2 separate regions of the Homo sapiens genome follow, and region 2 is linked to region 1. The links are contacts of gene promoters, found by promoter capture Hi-C in blood cells and fetal thymus (Javierre and others, 2016). All regions are on one chromosome and are shown on one strand. The core of a region is centred on a gene start or on the middle of the fragment in contact, and the rest is flanking DNA. Distances in the headings are between cores, read along the strand shown.

The links. The method cuts DNA at HindIII sites, captures the fragments that hold promoters and counts their contacts. A CHiCAGO score of 5 or more calls a contact.
Region 2: a contact is called between a fragment that was not itself captured here and the fragment with the promoter of SMG9 in region 1, in 1 of 17 cell types (fetal thymus). The highest score is 5.3, in fetal thymus.

The regions. Positions count from the first base shown.
Region 1 is chr19:43,750,225-43,756,436 of GRCh38, reverse strand. It overlaps SMG9 (SMG9 nonsense mediated mRNA decay factor), which reads left to right and starts at 1,475. Exons shown (of 14, transcript NM_019108.4): 1 at 1,475-1,783; 2 at 5,690-5,845. The coding sequence starts at 5,696. RefSeq lists a silencer at 1,695-2,054 and an enhancer at 2,285-2,544. The HindIII fragment of the contact is 6,293 bases long and covers 1-2,099 here.
Region 2 is chr19:44,650,381-44,657,107 of GRCh38, reverse strand. PVR (PVR cell adhesion molecule) reads right to left here. Exons shown (of 8, transcript NM_006505.5): 4 at 3,091-3,208. It overlaps MIR4531 (microRNA 4531), which reads left to right and starts at 3,376; the gene lies at 3,376-3,422. RefSeq lists a silencer at 370-570 and an enhancer at 2,346-2,405. The HindIII fragment of the contact is 5,987 bases long and covers 2,431-6,727 here.

The sequences.
Region 1 (6,212 bases), core at 226-2,725:
CCATTAGGCAACAGGCACTGTTCTATGCACTCTCACCCATTTAATGCTGGCGGCAATGTTGTAAGTAAGGTTATACCACACCCAATTCACAAACAGGGACGTAGAAGTAGAGAGTATTAAGTCACTTGGTCAAGCTCAGCCGCTATTTATATGAACTCAACACATGCTCTTAACTCCAATGCTTTATTATAACAGCAGCTCCAGAAGGAAACCGGGAACCAGTGCTTTAGGAAAGGAAAATGGGAACCAGAGGTGGAAACTTACTTTTATTGTATACAGCCAGAGAGGTTTGAATTGTGTATGTACATGTAATACCTGTTCAAATATAATTTTAAAAAACTTTTTTTTAGACCAGCCACGGTGGCTCACGCCTGTCATCCTAGCACTTTAGGAGGCCGAGGCGGGCGGATCACTTGAGGTCAGGAGTTCGAGACCAGCCTGGCCAACATGGCAAAACCCAGTCTCTACTAAAAATACAAAAAATTAGCCAGGCGTGGTGGACGCCTGTAATCCCAGCTATTTGGGAGGCTGAGGCAGGAGAATCGCTTGAATTTCAGGAGGTGGAGACGGCAGTGATCCGAGATCTCGCCACTGCACGCCAGCCTGGGTGACAGGGCGAGACTCCGTCTCTAAATAAATAAATAAAATAAAAATAAATAAAATTTCAAATAAAAAGCTAGAACCTTCCCATCCACCCACTCTGCCCACTGGGGAACTGCCGACCCTTCCGAATGCGCATGCGCTCTCCAGGCCGCGCCCGTCGCCCAATGTTCCTCTTTGGCGCGCGCAAGACTCCGCCCACGTGTGTTTAAATTTTCGACCCTGGAGCGGATTCCCTTCTCCAACGCGGCCTTCGAGGGTTTTAAACATAGTTCTGTCTCAGACTATTCTGCATCTCCCAGGCCTTAAGGATAAAACTGACACTGGAGACCCTTCAGGGTCTGACCTGCCCATTCTGCTGCCTCACCTCCCACCCAGGTGGACCCTGAATCCAAGCCAGTCTAGACCTCTTCCCCCGGGGTCTTCGCCGCCTTTGCTTAGCTGTTCCCTGGAGTACCCTCGCCTGCCTGTCCTTCAAGGTCCAACCGGACCCGCGCCCTTTCCTAAGTGATTTGAGGCCCTGGCAGTCTCTCCACAGGCCGGGGTGTCTTCCAGGGCGCACGCCAAGTCTGATTCATTCATGTGTTCTTGGCACTCAGCCCAGAACAGTGAAATTCCTCCCTGTCGTCCCACCCCACTGCATCCCGCCAACATCACCGAAGAGGCACAACTCGAACCCCAGATCCGGGCCGCTCTCCCTCCTGCCGGCTCCTCGGCGTATCCATTTCCCTACTCATCTCCCCACCCTCAACCCCCCAACCGCGCGCACGCGCATTGAGTCAGAGCCGCGGCGTCCTCCCGCCTCCCGCTCCGGAACCCGCATGCGTGCTGAAGCCGACCGCCTCCATCCACGCACGCTCAGCCCGGCGAGCGCATTCAGTTCTCGAGCTCCAGCCCTCAGCGCATGCGCAGGACGAGTCGCCTGAGGGAACTGATCTCAGCTCGGGCCCGCGTTACATCCTCCTCCTCTTCTTCCTTCGGCCCAGCTTTCCTTAGGGGCTGCAACCCGGACGCCGAGGCCGGTTTCGGAGTGGGGAGTGCCCATTTTCTCTCCTTCCCACGTTCCTGGCCCCCAGACGCCATTTGCAGGCGGGTGGCTTGGGTCAGCCTCCCCGCCCCCACCCGACTCCCGTCACGGGAGAGCGCACACCGCGCCCCGAGAACCAATCAGCAGCCGCGTTAGGTAAGGGGGCCGCGAGCCCGCGCGAGGCTAGCGCACCGGCGGCGGGCGGGGCGCTCCGGCAGGCCCCGCCCCCGCCTTGGCCATTGAAAGGTCGCTGGGACGTCCGGCGGGGGTGCGGCACTGAGTAGGGGGCCGGCGACCGTCAATTCGATACTGGGTTGGCAGGAATGGGGGCGGGGGACGGAAATAACGTGTAAATGAGAAACTTATGCTCTGCGAGATCCAAGTACAGCCTGCAAACTGCCCGTCAAGTACTGGGGAGGCCGCCCCAATAACGTGTAACGAGAAACTTGAGTTGGGTTCCCCGAGGGAAGCTTTGTAAAGCAATGCCTAAATCCGGGGGAGGCTCCCTTCTAGAACCCCGTAGAGAGAAGTTTAAATCCTAGGGAGTCCTTAGGAAAATGTGCAAATCGACTACAGTTCTGGGCTGGGGAGTGCCCCACGAAGTGGGCTTACATACTCAGGAATCGGGAGAGTCTCCCCAAATATTTGCAAATAGTGAGGTTCTGGGAGATCCCCGAAGGGAGTGTGTGAAGCGATGCCTAAATACTGAGGAGACACTCCCCAAAAATATGTAAATTCGATTTGTTAATTTTCGGGAAGTCACCCTAGAAGTCCATCAGCAGACACTTAAATAGACCAGCTTTCCTAAGTTTGGGGGTAATCCCCAAAGGAGCCCGGAAACAGCATTGGAAGTCCCCAGCTTGCATGTGGGTGGGGTTTTTTTTTTTTTTCTTTGAGACAAGAGTCTCGCTCTGTCGCCCAGGCTGGAGTGCAGTGGCACGATCTCGGCTCACTGTATCCTCCACACCTGGTTTAGGTGGGCTTTTAAGTTCCAAGGAACTCCCCACATTCAGATACTGTGGAAGCTCCCAGAATAAAGGGCACAGGGAGGCCAGGTGCGGTGGCTTACCCGGGGAATCCGATCACTTTGGGAGACCGAGGCTGGCGAATCACTTGAGGCCAGGAGTTCGATACCAGCCTGGCCAACATGGCGAAACCCCGTCTCTACTGAAAATGCAAAACTTAGCCCGGCCTGGTGGTATGCACCTGTAATCCCACCTACTTGGGAGGCTGAGGCAGGAGAATTGCCTGAACCCGGGAGGCAGAGGCCGCAGCCAGCTGAGATCGTGCCACTGCACTCCAGCCTGGGCAACAGAGCAAGACCGTCTCAAAAAAAAAAAAAAAAAAAAAAGAAAAGCATTCACACAGGGGCGCTTACTTTGCACAGGAAAGGGCATCCTCATAGGCCAGTAAACAGAAACCTCAGGGCTGGGCAGTATCCCAATTGAGGCATGAAGACAAGTACTTAAGCACTGGGTAGATTTCAGAATAATGTGTAAAGACACTTAATTGCAAGTGAGGGAGGAGTCTCAGATTCTGGGGAGAATCTCCATCCCAGACTAAGCAGTCATTTCGGTATGGAATGAGTCATTTTCCCTAAGCAGCTGTAAACAGGCCCTTGTCCTCCTCTGTCTAGGAAAGCAGTCTTCAGCCTGGCTTGTGGCTCTGGGAGAGGTCATGTAGCACAGTAGGAGAGGAGCTAGACAAGCCACTTGTCTGGCTAGCAAAATTATGACTGCATCTTGTAAACAGACCCTTCCATTCTGGAGAGTCTCGGAGGGACCTGTTTATGTCATTATGAGGTGGGGCAGGGGAGGATTCATGGAGGGATTTAACAGATACTTCCAAGCTAAGCAAGGGTCAGCAAACTGTTTTTTTGAGACAGGGTTCTGCTTTTTTTTTTTTTTAGACAGGGTCTTGCTTTGTTACCCAGGCTAGAGTGCAGTGGTGCAGCATGATCATGGCAGCCTTGACCTCCCAGGCTCAAGTGATCCCACCACCTCAGCCTCCCAAGTAGCTGGGACTACAGGTGCATGTCACCACGCCCAGCTACTTTTTTCTTTTTTAAATGTTATATAGAGACAGGATCTTGCTATGTTGCCCAAGCTGGTCTCGAACTCCTGGGCTGAAGCAGTCCTCCTGTCTCGGCCTCCCAAAGTGTCGGGATTACAGGTGTGAGCCACCATACTCGGCCATTCAGTAAAACTTTCTGTTAAGGCCAGAGAATAATTATTTTAGGCCCTGCAGACTGTATTGTCTGTCTCAGCTCTGCCATTGCATCAAGAAGGCAGCCACAGACAGTTTCTAAATTGATGGATGTGGCCATGTTCCGATAAAACTTTCTATTTACAAAAACAGAAAGCAGACCAGATTTGGCCCCTAGGCCACACTTTGTCAACCTGACTTCTGAGCTTGAGCAGATAGCCCCACTGAGTTCTACAAACAGTTAAGTAGTCAAATACCACCCTAGACTGATGTGTGAACAGCTGGGAAAACTCTCTAAGGACCTGTAAACAGATACTGAAATGGTGGAGAGTGGGTTGCATAGGTAGCCAGACATTATATAACATCTCAAATAGAATAAACACTGGAGACACCTTGAAATGAAATTCACTGTGAGGGAAGGCAGACCGTCAGGAACGGAAGACAGACAGACACTGAAATGTAGTGGGATACCAGGTGAAAATAGGCCCTTGAGTGTTGGAACCTCACCATGACATACACTAGTAAGTGGCTGGAGCCCCACCATGACATACACTAGTAATGACTAATCAAGAGTAGCTGTTGGACTGAGGATCACATTGCTGGTTTGTAAGCAAATGCCTTGCTGCATTTTGGTAAGGAGAATATCCTATTTTTATGTGAACTTGCCCCTGTGAGTTTATTTATGTTGGAGCATTTTAATAGTTGGGAATAGTTTTGGCTGCAAGTAAGAGATAGATGTGTATTTGTTTTTCACTGCCTCTCGAAGTAGGCAATTCAAGGTTAACGTGGAACCCCCCAACCTTGTGTCTTGTTTTATTGTACCTTCCATTAAATTGCCTTACAGCCCAGGATAGCTGCTTGAGCTCCAACCTCCACACCCACATTCCTGTCACTGGGAGGAAGGGGCAGAAGGCATGTGCCAGAGTCTGTGAAGGGAAGTTTCTGGAAGCTGCCAAGCCACACTTCTAGTGTCATACCATAGCCAGAAAGTACTTACTCACATGGCCACACCTAACTGCAAACAAGGATGAGAAGTTTGTTCTGGATAGCCATGTACCTAGCTCAGAACTGAGGGTTTTACTTTTTTGGAAGAAGTCAGGAGTGGATGTTGGGAACCAGCTTGCAGTTGCTACCACAGGCCCAGAGCTCTGTTGAAAGGAAGGGCCTTGGCCGGGCATGGTGGCTCACGCCTATAATCCCAGCCCTTTGGGAGGCTGAGGCAGGTGGATTGCCTGAGGTCAGGAGTTTGAGACCAGCCTGGCCAACATGGTGAAACCCCATCTCTACTAAAAATACAAAAAAAATTAGTCGGGTGTGGTGGTGGGCATCTGTAATCCCAGCTTCTCAGGAGACTGAGGCAGGAGAATTGCTTGAATCTGTGAGGTGGAGGCTGCAGTGAGCCGAGATTACGCCATTGCACTCCAGCCTCGGTGACAAGAGCGAAACTCTGTCTCAAAAAAAAGAAGAAAGGAAGAGCCTTGGTTGGGCACAGTGGCTCACATCTGTAATCCCAGCACTTTGGGAGGCCAAGGTAGGTGCATCACCTGAGGTCAGGAGTTCGAGACCAGCCTGGCCAACATGGTGAAACCCCATCTCTACTAAAAATATAAAAATTAGCCAGGCATGGTGGTGGGTGCCTGTAATCCCAGCTACTTGGGAGGCTGAGGCAGAAGAATTGCTTGAACTCAGGAGGCAGAGGTTGCAGTGAGCCAAGATCAGGCCACTGTACTCCAGCCTGGGCGACAGAGAGACTCCATCTCCAAAAAAAAGAAAGAAGGGACTTCGTATAGTCTAGGATATGCCAAGTAGAGTAGGAAGAGACTCTGTCATCCTGAAATCCCCTCATTCCCTCCATAGGTAACCATGTCTGAGTCTGGACACAGTCAGCCTGGACTCTATGGGATAGAGCGGCGGCGACGGTGGAAGGAGCCTGGCTCTGGTGGCCCCCAGAATCTCTCTGGGCCTGGTGGTCGGGAGAGGGACTACATTGCACCATGGGAAAGAGAGAGAAGGGTGAGTGTCTGGACCCAGGAGCAGCATTCATGTATCTATTTGGTTCCACGCACCTGCCATGTGCCAGGCACTAATCCAGATGCCGGGGATATATTTGTAAACAAAACCTACCACCCTCATGGATAAAGAAGGTGGAGAGTGATAAAGGAGACTGTTCTAGATAACATGGTCAGAGAAGGTCTCTCTGAAGAGGTGACTTTTTAGCAGAGACTTGAAGGAGATGAGAGAATAAGCCATGCCAGCATCTGAGATGAAGAGCATTCCAGACAGAAAGAACAGCAAGCGCAGAGGCCCTGAGGTGGCCCATATCTGGCGTGTTCAAGGAGTAGCCATAGGAGGCCAGGATGGCTGCAATTGATGAGGAAGG
Region 2 (6,727 bases), core at 4,175-6,674, 900 kb before region 1:
AGAGCTCACCCTCATCTCCTTCAGGCCTCTGCTGGGATGTCACCTTAGTAACACCTCACTTGGCCACCCTATTTCAACTGTGATGATCACCCTTCCCATCCCCTTCTCTTTAATTTATTTAATTATTATTTTTTTGAGACAGCGTCTCACTCTGTCACCCAGGCTGGAGTGCAGTGGCACCATCTTGACTCACTGCAACCTCCACCTCCTGGGTGCATGGAATCTTCCCACCTCAGCCTCCTGAGTAGCTGGGACTACAGGTGCATGCCACCACACCCGGCCAATTTTTGTATCTTTTTTGGTAGAGATGGGGTTTCGCCATGTTGGCCAGGCTGGTCTTGAACTCCTAGCCTCAAGTGATCCTCCCATCTCTGCCTCCCAAAGTGCTGGGATTACAGGTATGAGTCATGGCGCCCAGTCCCATTCCCTTCTCTGCTTTGTCTTCTCCATGGTATTTATCACCATTGCACACACACTACACACTTTATCTTGCTTCTTGTTTCTTTCACCACTAGAATGGAAGCTCTATATGGGGAGGAAATTTGGTCTGTTTTATCGACCAACGTATGTTGGTTAATTGCACCCGGCACACAGTAAGTAGTCAAGGAACACTGGTTTAATGAACAGAGGTGGAGGAGATGGAAGCATCAGGCTTTGGGTGCTCCGCAGAGCTGGGATGCAAACGCAGCTATCTGGCTCAAGAGCCTGAATTGCGGTGCTTTGAGGCAGGACAGTAAAGGCACCATCACACCAGTTGAAAACCTTTGACCGGCAATTCCTTCCACGGACAACTGCTGACAAGTGACCAGTGGGGATGGACACCACCATGGCATTTGCAGAGTTGAAAATGGAAAATGACATCTGTGTCCTCTACTAGGGACTGGTTAAATAACTGATGACATCCACATATGTTGGAATCCCTTCCCTGCCCTTTGGGAGGCCCAGGTGAGATGACTGCTTGAGTACAGGAGTTCAAGACCAGCCTGGGCAACATAGTGAGATCCTGTCTCTATTCTTTGAATTTTTTTTTTAAAGTGGTGGAATCCCAGCAACACTAAAAAAGGGGCCAGGTTAGCCAGGCGTGGTGGTGTGTGCCTGTAGTCCCAGCTATCTGGGAGGCTGAAGCTGGAGGATCGCTTGAGCCCAGGAATTCAAGGCTGCAGTGAGCTGTGATTGTGCCACGGCACTACAGCCTGAGCAACAGAGTGAGGCCCTGCCTCAAAAAAAAAAAAAAAAAAAAAAAAGCAGGAGAGCTGGGGGTGCTCTGAAATGCATAATATGATTGATGGATGAATAGAGGGACTGAAGGAATCACAGAAACGTGATAAAGCAAGCACAGTAAAATGTTAGCAGGGGAATCCACGTGGTGGAATCTTAAGTGTTCACTGGAAAATTCCTATGATTTTTCTGTATGTTTGACAGTCTTCCTAATACAACGTGGGGGAAAATGGAGTTGTGGATCTATGTGCTTTGACATGGAAAGGTATTCACAAGACAGACGAAAAGGTTCAAAATTATATGTACAGCATAATTCCAGTCTTTGTTTAGAAACAGAGAGAAAAAAGACAGGATGTATAATAAGGGGTCACTGGGTATTTCTGGAGGTGGCTGGGTACACTTGAACTATAGGCACTACTTTCTTCTTTTTGCTCATAACTAAATTGTTTGATATTTCTACAGTGGACACAAGTTATTTTTGTAATAAGGAAAAAGACCTAAGGCTGGGCGAGGTGGCTCACGCCTGTAATCCCAGCACTTTAGGAGGCTGAGGTGGGTTGATTGCTTGAGCCCAGGAGTTGCAGACCAGCCTGGGCAATGTGGCAAAACCCTGTCTCTGCAAAAAAAATACAACAAAATTAGCTGAGTGTGGTGGCGTGTGCCTGTAGTCCCAGCTACTCAGGAGGCTGAGGTGGGAGGATCACCTGAGCCCAGGGAGGTCCAGGCTGCAGTGAGCTATGATCACGCCACTGCACTCCAGCCTCGGCAACAGAGCCCCTTCTTTAAAAAAAAAGGGCGGTTCAGTAAAATTATGTAATTTATGTAAAATTATGTATTATAAAATTATGTATTATCTCTTTGCCTTTTTCTTACCTTGCTCTTGATCTCAGCCTCAGTGTGAATCTGGGGAAATCTTATTGCTGTGAGCCTCAACTTTCTCATCTAGACAATGGGGATATATAGTACTTGCTCCATCCAGAGATAACCAAGTAGGTTACACAAGGTGACGGTGAGGTGGTTACAGTCTAGAGTGGGGGTGTCCAATCTTTTGGCTTCCCCGGGCCACATTGGAAGAAGAAGAACTGTCCTGGGCCATACATAAAATACACTAACACTAACAATAGCTAATGAGCTAAAAAAATTCGCAAAAAAAAAGTCTCATAATGTTTTAAGAAAGTTTACAAATGATGTGGCCTGCAGGTTAGACAAGCTTGGCCAAGAGGCGGAGGACCAGCTTTGGAGCCGAGCGCTGATTCAAGGGCCGCTTCTGCCCTCTCGTGGCTGGTCTTTAACCTGGGCAGGGCAACAGCTGCTGACTGTGCACAGCATGGGGTCACATGGGATTCGGGGGAAGTACCGGGCACAGAGCAGGCACACCCCAAAAAGCAGGTGCATCCACCAGCCAGGATTCAACCACCTGCTAAACGCCTCAACCGCAAAACAGAGATGTCAAAACAGAGATGCCCCCCACTGGGGGCCCGAAGTCAACCTCCTCTTTTTCTCTTTTCTGAATCTCCCTCCTCTCTTAGACCAGGAGTCCAGGCCCCAGTCTGTCCTGCCTCAGACCCAGGGGTCCAGGCTCCCAGCTTCTCCTCCCTCAGACCCAGGGGTCCAGACCCCCCAGCCCCTCCTCCCTCAGACCCAGGGGTCCAGGCCCAGCCCCTCCTCTCTCAGTCCCAGGGGTCCAGACCCCCAGCCCCTCTTCCCTCAGACCCAGGAGTCCGGGCTCCCAGCCTCTCGTCCCTCAGACCCAGGGGTCCGGGCCCCCAGCCCCTTCTCCCTCAGTCCCAGGAGTCCAGGCCCCCAGCCCCTCCTCCCTCAGTGCTAGAAATCCAGACCCCCAGCCCCTCCTCCCTGAGACCCAGGACTCACGTGCTCCAATTATAGCCTGTGGGCTCTGGGTTGCTGCGAGCATCGCAGGTCAGGGTGGCCTCATTCTGGCCAAGGTACCAGTTGTTATCATAGCCAGAGATGGATACCTCTGGGGGGTCTGCAGGAAATGGATACAGAGGTTCAGAGACTGGGAGGCTTTGGGGGGCCTGGGGCTACGCGGGATTCACGACACTGCAGGAAAAGGCCCGGGGATATTTGGAAAACAGCGGGAGCTGGAGAGGCCTAGGAGGAGTCTAGGTAGATGGGGTGCCACAGAGAGCAGAAGCCTAGGAGTCCTTGGTCAGTGGGGACATGGAGAAGGCTTCTGAGGAGCTGCTTTTCTCCACTAGCTTTCCTGGGTAGCCTGGACCAGGCATGTCTTGGGTGTCCTGCAGGAAAATGCCTCCTCCTTTTCTCACTCATAGGCAATGACCACTCACAACACACAGCAGTGTATTCAAGGTTCTGACAAGTCCTGCAGGAAAGAGTCCCAGATAACCCTGCTCTAGGCTGCTGCTCAGCCATCCCATACGTGATTGACAGCGAAGACCTTTCAATGTCCTTGGGGGCAGGCCAATGGGACAGGGTTTTATTCGGGGGCGAGGGGTAGGAGTCAGTGTAGATCTCCTCCTCGCTCAGACCCAGTGACAGTGTTGAGGGACTCCAGTATAGACAGTACCTGAGGGAATCTGTGTACCAATTGCCTGGCGGGGAGTAAGCAGTATAGACAATGGTGGGAGGAACAGTATGAATGATGTCTAGAAGAGCTTGTGTGGATATTACTGATGGGTTCAGTGTAGACAGGGTGTTGGAATATTACAGCAGATGCTATATTGTCGGGCCAGTGTTGAAAATGTGGTGGTGGGGGTGAGATCACCCCCACATATACAGTGTGTCCCCGGGAGCTGACGAAATTAAGACAGGCTCTGTGTATGTGTGTAGACAGTATTTGGATGAGCCAGTGTAGATGATGTGGGAGCTTAGTCTAGATCTGTGCTGTCCAATATGGCACCTACTGGCCACATGTGACTACTGAGCACTCGAAATATAGCCAGGCCGAAATACACACCAGATTTCAAAGGCTTTACTAGGACAAAATAAATGGGAAAGATCTCAAGAATAATTTTAAAAAAACAATTACAAGTTGAAATAATATTTTAGGTATATTGGGTTAAGTAAAGGCAATTATTAAAAATTAATTTTGGCCAGGCACAGTGGCTCATGCCTGTAATCCCAGTACCTTGGGAGGTTGAGGCAGGAGGATCACTTGAGCCCAGGAGTTTGAGACCAGCCTGGGCAACATAGGGAGATCCTGTCTCCAGAAAAAATAAAAATAGGCCGGGTGCGGTGGCTCACGTCTGTAATCCCAGCAATTTGGGAGGCCAAGGTGGGTGGATCACGAGGTCAGGAGTTTGAGACCAGCCTGGCCAACATGGTGAAATCCCGTCTCTACCACAAATACAAAAATTAGCTGGGCACTGTGGCCAGGGCTTGTAATCCCAGCTACTCGGGAGGCTGAGGCAGGAGAATCACTTGAACCCGAGAGGCGGAGGCTGCAGTGAGTTGAGATCGTGCCACTGCACTCTAGCCTGGGTGACAGAGCAAGACTTCATCACAAAACAAAAAAACAAAAACAAAAACAAAAACAAAAATTAGCTAGGCATGGTGTCACACGCCTGTAGTCCCAGCTACTCAGGAGACTGAGGCTGAGGTGGGAGGATCACTTAAGCCCAGGAGGTTGAGGCTGCAGGGAGCTGTGCCACTGCACTCCAGTCTGGGTGACAGAGTAAGACCCCGTCTCAAATAAATAAATAGATAAATAAATAAACAAATAAATTTCATCTCTTTCTTTTCTTGTTTTTGAGATGGAGTTTTGCTCTGCTGCCCAGGCTGGAGTGCAATGGCGTAATCTCGCTCATTGCAATCTCCGCCTCCCAGGTTCAAGTGATTCTCCTGCCTCAGTCTCCCGAGTAGCTGGGATTACAGGCACCCGCCACCGTGCCTGGCTAATTTTTGTATTTTTTAGTGAAGACAGAGTTTCACCACATTGATCAGGCTGGTCTTGAATGCCTGACCTCAGGTGATCCACCTGCCTCGGCCTCCCAAAGTGCTGGGATTACAGGCGTGAGCCACCGTGCCTGGCCTCTTTCTTTTAATTTTTTAATGGGGTGGCCGCTGGAGAATTTAAAATCCTATATGCAGCTTGCATGCTATTTCTGTTAGACAGCACTGGTTAGAGAGTCCTGGGGCTGTCAGTGGAGATAAATGTGTGGGTGTCAATGTCGATGATGCCATGAGGGAGCTGGTGGAGGTAACGCTGTGCAGGAGAATCAGGACAGATGCTGTCAGGGGGCTGTGCAGACAGAACACAAGGAGGCCAGTGTGGTGATGTGGGGTGAGACTGGATAGCCTGTAGATGAGCCAGTGTAGACAATATTGGGCAGAGGAACATGGAGACTACACTGGGGGACTCTGCAGACACTGCTTAGGGGAGCCAGCACAAACAATGTGAGAAGATCAATGCAACTAGCACCCGGCGGAGACAGTTGATCGTGGCTCAGGGGAACTGGTCGATACAATGTGGGAGGTGAATGCAGACAGTTCTCCAGGGAGTCAGTGTAGACAGTGTCAGGGGGCACTTTAGAGAGTGCCTAGGAGAACCAGTGTAGAAAAAGTGGGGTGTTTACATAGACAGTGGTCATAGGAGCCAGTGTAGACACTATGGGAGACAGTGAAAACACCCCACAGCTGGTGGCCAAAATAGGTGGTGTAGACAATGGGGTTAGTGCTGTCTGTGGCCCAGGAGAGCCAGTGTAGACAATGGTAAGGCAGTGTAGAAAATGGACAAGGGGCCAGGTGCAGTGGCTCACGCCTGTAATCTCAGCACTTCGGGAGACTGAGGCGGGAGGATCACTTAAGCCTAGGAGTTTGAGACCAGCCTGGGCAACACAGCAAAACTCTCTCTAGAAAAAAACTGTAAAATTAGCCGGGCATGGTGGCTGCACCTGTAGTCCCAGTTACTTGGGAGGCTGAGGGAGAAGGATTGCTTGAGCCTGGAAGGGTGAGGCTGTAGGAACCATGATCATGCCCCTACACTCCAGCCTGGGTGACAGAGCGAGACCCTGTCCAAAGGAAAAACAAAACAAAACAAAAAGCCGGGCACAGTGGCTCATGCCTATAATTCCAGCATACTTTGGGAGGCTGAGGCAGGCCGATCACCTGAGGTCAGGAGTTCGAAACCAGCCTGGCCAACATGATGAAACCCTGTCTCTACTAAAAATACAAAAATTAGCCAGGTGTGGTGGTGTGCACCTTTAATCCCAGCTATTTGGGAGGCTGAGGTAGGAGAACCACCTGAATTTGGGAGGCAGAGGTTACAGTGAGCCGAGAACATGCCACTGTACTGCAGCCTGGGTAACAGAGTGAGACTCTATTTCAAAAAAAAAAAAAAAAAAAGGAAAGAAAGAAAAGGACAAGGGAGTGGGTGTAGACAATAAGGGAGGCAGTGTTGATCGTGGCCAGAAGAACCAGTGTAGCAATGTGGGGAGGGTCATTGTGGATACTTGCCTGGGGAAATGGGTGTAGGCAGTTTAGGGGCAGTGTAGACTGTGCTCAAGGGAGTCAACAGAGTGTCAGG